2 separate regions of the Homo sapiens genome follow, and region 1 is linked to region 2. The links are contacts of gene promoters, found by promoter capture Hi-C in blood cells and fetal thymus (Javierre and others, 2016). All regions are on one chromosome and are shown on one strand. The core of a region is centred on a gene start or on the middle of the fragment in contact, and the rest is flanking DNA. Distances in the headings are between cores, read along the strand shown.

Evidence for each region. Contacts are between HindIII fragments. The CHiCAGO score rates a contact against its expected background, and 5 or more counts as called.
Region 1: a fragment that was not itself captured here is called in contact with the fragment with the promoter of MAP9-AS1 in region 2 in 1 of 17 cell types (endothelial precursors); the score reaches 6.6 in endothelial precursors.

What each region holds. Positions count from the first base shown.
Region 1 is chr4:154,967,770-154,970,878 of GRCh38, reverse strand. No RefSeq gene overlaps it. Among named protein-coding and RNA genes, the nearest start is that of RBM46, 190 kb to the right of the region's middle. The HindIII fragment of the contact is 2,143 bases long and covers 578-2,720 here.
Region 2 is chr4:155,352,374-155,355,567 of GRCh38, reverse strand. MAP9-AS1 (MAP9 antisense RNA 1) reads right to left here and starts at 1,352. Exons shown (of 3, transcript NR_125937.1): 1 at 1,195-1,352. It overlaps MAP9 (microtubule associated protein 9), which reads left to right. Exons shown (of 14, transcript NM_001039580.2): 10 at 408-497; 11 at 2,228-2,389; 12 at 2,511-2,656; 13 at 2,840-2,972. The HindIII fragment of the contact is 4,107 bases long and covers 1-2,858 here.

The DNA.
Region 1 (3,109 bases), core at 400-2,899, 380 kb after region 2:
AACTATCCCAGTAAATAAGCAGTGCAACAGACACGTGCTATCAAGGGGCCCGTGAGGAGCTGTGGCTCTCCAAAGCCTCCCAGTTTTCTCAGGGAGATGGTCCTGACATTTTGTTGTCAGTGAGAAACCTCCAGGCCAGGAAGCAAAGAGCTCAGTGGCTTCACATTGCACTTGATTTTGCCAGGGGTCCTCAGCTCCAGCCCCACCTCCCTTTTATATTCTGCTCTATGCTGTAGGGCTTGGATCTGCCAACTCCAGATCTCAGACTTCATTGACAACTGGTTTCATTGCAGGGCAAGAAATAAATCCTTTTCTCCCCAACCCCTCCCCACAAGAAAACACTTAAGGAAAACAATATTCCTCAAGATGCCTGATCTATTGACAAAAGAACAAACTTTTAAAACTATCTTACAGATGGTTTGAAGTATCTCAACAGTGTCAGCAAATTCTGTGCATAAGATCACATTGAAATTACAGAGGGAGTTATAAAAACAATTTCATGCCTGAGTCCCACCCTGAGATACAATGATTTAACAAGAGTGGGGTATGGCCTGGTCAGTGGGATTTTATTAAAGCTTCCTAGAAGATTCTAACATGCAGTGAGGTTCAAGCACCAGTGAAAATCACTATATTAGATCACAGGCTTTTGGTTTTCTACCAAACAATATATCAATTTATTCTATAATTTCATTTTTACTAAAAGTAAAAAATTACTTATCAATTAAATAGTGGAATCAAAACATGGAGTCTGAAGACCTGGGCCTCAGCTCTGCCAGTATATCTATGGAGGCTTGGAAAACCCTCAAGCTCTTCTGGGCCTCTGCTTCCTCAGCTATAATACAAAAGGAAGAAACTAAGATTTAATGACCAACAGGTATGTTCTCCCAGCACTGTGAAATATTGTCTCATTTACCCTGCAGTCAATTTTGTGACTACTTATCCCATTGTTATAGATGAGAAGACTGGATACCAGAATAGTAAGCAATTTTCCAAGGCCACATAACTGCTAAGTGTGAAACGTAGGGATTGAAACCTGACTTGACTGACCCCCATGTCCAGGCTCATTCTGCCAACCTCAGGATGCTGTCTAGAGTCCCCTGGAGCCTTAAAATTTTGGATGAATGTCAGCTATCAATGTAATCAAAACTAGCATGTGTTCAGGAGTGTTTTTGTATCTCAGGGTAAACATTAGGAAGAAGTTGACACATTTTATTCTTTGTCCAAAAGGGTCAAGTGACAGACACTATTAAAAAAAAGATCCTTCTACTTAATGAGATTTAATAACGCCCTAGACTCAGGGGCTTATATGCATGAAACATAACTGCAAATGTGACTCAAGTAAGAAAAGTCAGCAGATGAATTAATGAAAAACAGAAACAAAAGAAATAAGAAGAGATAACAACACTAGGAAGATGCTCAATATAAATATCTAGTGATACATACTAATGTGCAATATGTCTCTTCAATATGGACTTTGTAACTATTTTTTTGAAATGTTGAAACAACATTACTAATATAAGAGAGAAAAAATATTGTATTAGAATGATAACTAGAAAAATAGGAGACTATGGAATTATTTTAACATCATAACAAATAGTTATAATGGTTTCGTTAGACATATTGAATAGATCATTGCTCTCAAAGGAAGCACAAACCGAAATCTTTGGTCTAAGCCCTGAGTATAAAGGATTTTTAACCAAGCAAATTACCAATTAGATATATGGTTCATGCTGAAGTTCATTTTAAGTATCTCCCAACATCATTAGACATTCCTAATAATAAATCATCAGTCCCTTCGTGAGTGTTGTAGAAAACTTGAGGAGAAGAAAAATAAAGGCTACATTGGGAAATAATCATCAGATAAATGCATTCTTTTCTTTATGTCTAGCCTACCCTGCAGAAACCACTCAAACTTCTCCATGGCAATTCATTATTCACTCACCTGACAGTTTTATTTTAGACTTAAAAAAATTTGCTGAACAAAAGAAATGTCATTTGAATAGACTTGAACCATTCCAAGGGGAATAGTTTAGGGACATACCAGTCATTGTCCAGTTTCTTCAACTTTGCATTTAACCTATATTTGTGCAATTAACCTATACCATCTAAAGATGCTTGGAAAGTTAGTTTTATTACCTTTTTATAGGCATACTACCACTAGGACGATTAAAACACAACAACACAATGTTAAAAGGGAAGGGTTAGAAGATGAATACAGAGAATGAGTAAATGCTTCAAACTCACCACATAACATCAATTATTAGATACAATAATCTCTCAGAAAATAAAGTTGAAGATAACATCCAACAAGAGCAATTTCTCCACCAGGTTCTATGGAAACATCAGGGCCCATAGTGCTAAGAGACATTTCTCATTAAAAGGGCTTTATGGGCCGGGCGCGGTGGCTCATGCCTGTAATCCCAGCACTTTGGGAGGCCGAGGCGGGCGGATCACGAGGTCAGGAGATCGAGACCATCCCGGCTAAAACGGTGAAACCCCGTCTCTACTAAAACTACAAAAAATAGCCAGGCGTAGTGGCGGGCGCCTGTAGTCCTAGCTACTTGGGAGGCTGAGGCAGGAGAATGGCGTGAACCCGGGAGGCGGAGCTTGCAGTGAGCCGAGATCCCGCCACTGCACTCCAGCCTGGGCGACAGAGCGAGACTCCGTCTCAAAAAAAAAAAAAAAAAAAAAAAAGGGCTTTATGACAAGTTTGAGAAGCTTTAATATTTTTATACTAAATATTATAAAATTCTAATATATCATTCAGTTAAAAACATTACACTTTAAATTTTATATAGTCCCATGTTTCCCAAACGTATGTGAACTTGAAAGTTTTTTCCACACATCTATCGAATCTATCATGAATTAATACTCTAGACTATATAGCTTGGGTTTCTAACTTCAAGTATACTTTTCCATTTTTAATTTAAAAAACGTTATACCTCCAGTTAAAACAAAGACCTCTTATGGATTCATCCAGCATAATTTGTTTTTCCAAGATTTTAAAAAGATTTTCAGTATCAAGATTAGATCTTGGCTGGGTGCAGTGGGTCACACCTATAATCTCAGCACTCTGGGAGTCAGAGGTGGGAGAATTTCTTGAGCCCAG
Region 2 (3,194 bases), core at 103-2,602:
CATATTTTACTAAATTATTTGCTTCCACACTTTGCATAACTGACCATAGTTGTTTTTAAAGAAAGAATATGCCATTGCAATTTATAGAAATACAGCACAAGCCAAAACATTGTAAAGTCTATATATGTTTTCATTTTTTTCTTCTTGAAGTTTATATGAACAAAAGGAGTTATTATGAACAAAAAGTTATTAAATTTTTTCTTTCCTGAGATGTTGTTAGGCGTACATAGGAAAAAGATTGTATTAATTTATTCACAATTCTAAAAGTCTTTTTTTGTCTTTTTTAGAGTAGAATAGTATACTTTAGAAAATTGTACATGTGAATTTCAGAGAAAATGTTAATATAAAGAATTCTAATTCACTTAAGAAATTTTAAATATTATATGACCTTTTTCTTGTTCTTATAGGAGTGGTTAGAAAAGAAAAATGTGTATTTACATGAAATGCACAGAATAAAAAGAATTGAAAGTGAAAACTTAAGGATCCAAAATGAACAGGTATTCTGACATATAGAAGTAAAAATGTTTTGGATTTTTATTTCAGTAAAATATCCCTGAATATATAACTTTTCTAAATCAGCTTTTTAAATGGCAAAATAACTTGTATATTAAAGAAATGATTTCCGGTTTTACTTCTGTTTTACTTTATACATTTTAGTTTGATATAACTGTTTTACATGAAAACAGATTTTAATTTTGTATATGTATAGGATAGCTTTGTTCCTGCTGATTATGAAGTTATTATTGTTTATGAGCACCTAATTCACTTTTAAAAGTTGATTTCATTTAGAACTTAACCAAGAAGGCCAGGTACTGTGGCTCATGCCTGTAATCCCAGCACTTTGGGAGGCCAAGGCAGATGGGATTCCTTGAGGTCTGGAGTTCGACACCAGCCTGGGCAATGTGGTGAAACCCCATCTCTACTAAAAATACAAAAATTAGCCAGGGATGGTGGTGGGCACCTGTAATCCCAGCTACTCAGGAGGCTGAGGTGGCAGGATCACTTGAACCCGGGAGGCGGAGGTTGCAGTTAGCTGAGATCGTGCCACTGTACTCCAGCCTAGGTGACAGAGACTCTGTCTCAAAAAAAAAAAAAAAGGCACGACAAGATAAAGGATCATTAGACACTAGTTAGCCTTCAATTTTCCTCTTTTCTCTCTTGAATTTTATAAGTATCTTCAAGTCCAACCCCTACCTGAACTCTTGATCTGTATCCTTTCCCATTGAATGGAGGTGAACTTTTGTTCCTGTCTCTTCTGTACTGAGTCTCTTCCTCTAACTCCTGCTTGTAATACGCTCAGTTATTTCTTATCTTCTAAAGTCAAACTTCTGGACAAAAACTCCAGTGTGCTGTTCAATACTAAAAATAGATTTAGAAGAAAAATATTTTCCAAGGTGAACTGCACGATAATGCGTCAGTAGTGAAGGGAGCAGCCCTCCAGGGGGCGTGCCTGTCTATCTGTTAACCACGTTCATAGCAGTATGCTGCTGTGGTCAGTGCCATACCCCTTCTCATTTGATTTTCGTAGCTCTGTGAGGTAGATAGTACTTTGACCTCTAAATTATGTTACCCCAATATTAAGGTTTTATGTCATTTAATATTGAACAATAAAGCAAACATAGAATATTATGGGATTAGATTGAAGGAAGTAAAATAATAACATAACTTGCTATACAGTCTCCAACCTATTTTTCAGTCGAGCACATACTTTCAACATTTGGAATACATTTGTGCAGTAAGAACTTTATGTTTTGATACTATTCAAAATTAAGATTTAAACCAAAAATCTGCATCTTACTGCATGGCTTGGCCAATTTGCCTTACTCTAACTTACTTTATAAGCCCATAACTTTACTGATTTTTTTTTCAAATATTTTATTATGAAAATTTTACTATACCACTTAGCCTATTACAGTTTATTTTGATATAATTTGTTTAGTACACTTTCAAAAATAATAGTTGACATCTTTCTCATTAATAGGTCAATATGTGATAAATGTTTTTAGAAAAGGACGTTTTAAAACCAATGAATAATTCAGATAACATTCTTTGTAAATTATCTAAGCCATTCTAAATAAATTACCTACTTTGAAAGTTAATTTCTAAGTATAATGAATATCAGAGGACTAAAGATAAATGTATATGTGTATATTTATATCTAGCCATATTTGTGTCTATGTATATATACATATATATGTATATCACTCTATTATTTTTTCCACTGTAGAAAAAAGCTGCTAAAAGAGAAGAAGCATTAGCATCATTTGAGGCCTGGAAGGCTATGAAAGAAAAGGAAGCAAAGAAAATAGCTGCCAAAAAGAGGCTTGAAGAAAAAAACAAGAAGAAAACTGAAGAAGAAAATGCTGCAAGAAAAGGAGAAGCACTACAAGTATTCAGAACTTTGCACATCTTAATTATTTTAAAACATTTGAAATCCAAATTAATGATTAACCATATTTTTATTTATTTTCAAATATTCACAGTAAGAAAATTATTCTGAACTTTTTCAGGCTTTTGAAAAATGGAAAGAGAAAAAGATGGAATATCTTAAAGAGAAAAATAGAAAGGAGAGAGAATATGAAAGAGCAAAGAAACAGAAAGAGGAGGAAACTGTTGCCGAGAAAAAGAAAGATAATTTAACTGCTGTTGAGAAATGGTAATCCAAAATCATAAATATTTTGATATATTTTAAATTATAGTAACACTTCAGGATTTTATAAAATTTATTTACTTGAAATTTAGTAATGCATTTCAATTTCATTACTGTCAAAGATGTACTAGGGAATCTTTATTATGTATTTTCCTTTAACTCTCCAGTGTTTTATACTATGCTCTATAGGAATGAAAAAAAGGAAGCTTTTTTCAAGCAAAAGGAAAAAGAAAAAATAAATGAGAAAAGAAAGGAAGAACTGAAAAGAGCTGAGAAAAAAGATAAAGATAAACAAGCTATTAATGAATATGAAAAATGGCTGGTAGGTATTATTTGTCAATGCACTTTCGTCTTTTTCATGTACCTTTTGTGTCTTTTCTGTCCCTAATTCTAATTCTATTTGCTCCAGACCTACTGATCATTTCTACCTGGAATCTGCTTTGTTGAATTCAAGCTCTCCTCCTGCATATAGCATATTTTCTTTGACTTAGTCATTTCTATTAATGTTTCTACTATTCCCTCAAACACCCAGGCTGAAAACTTG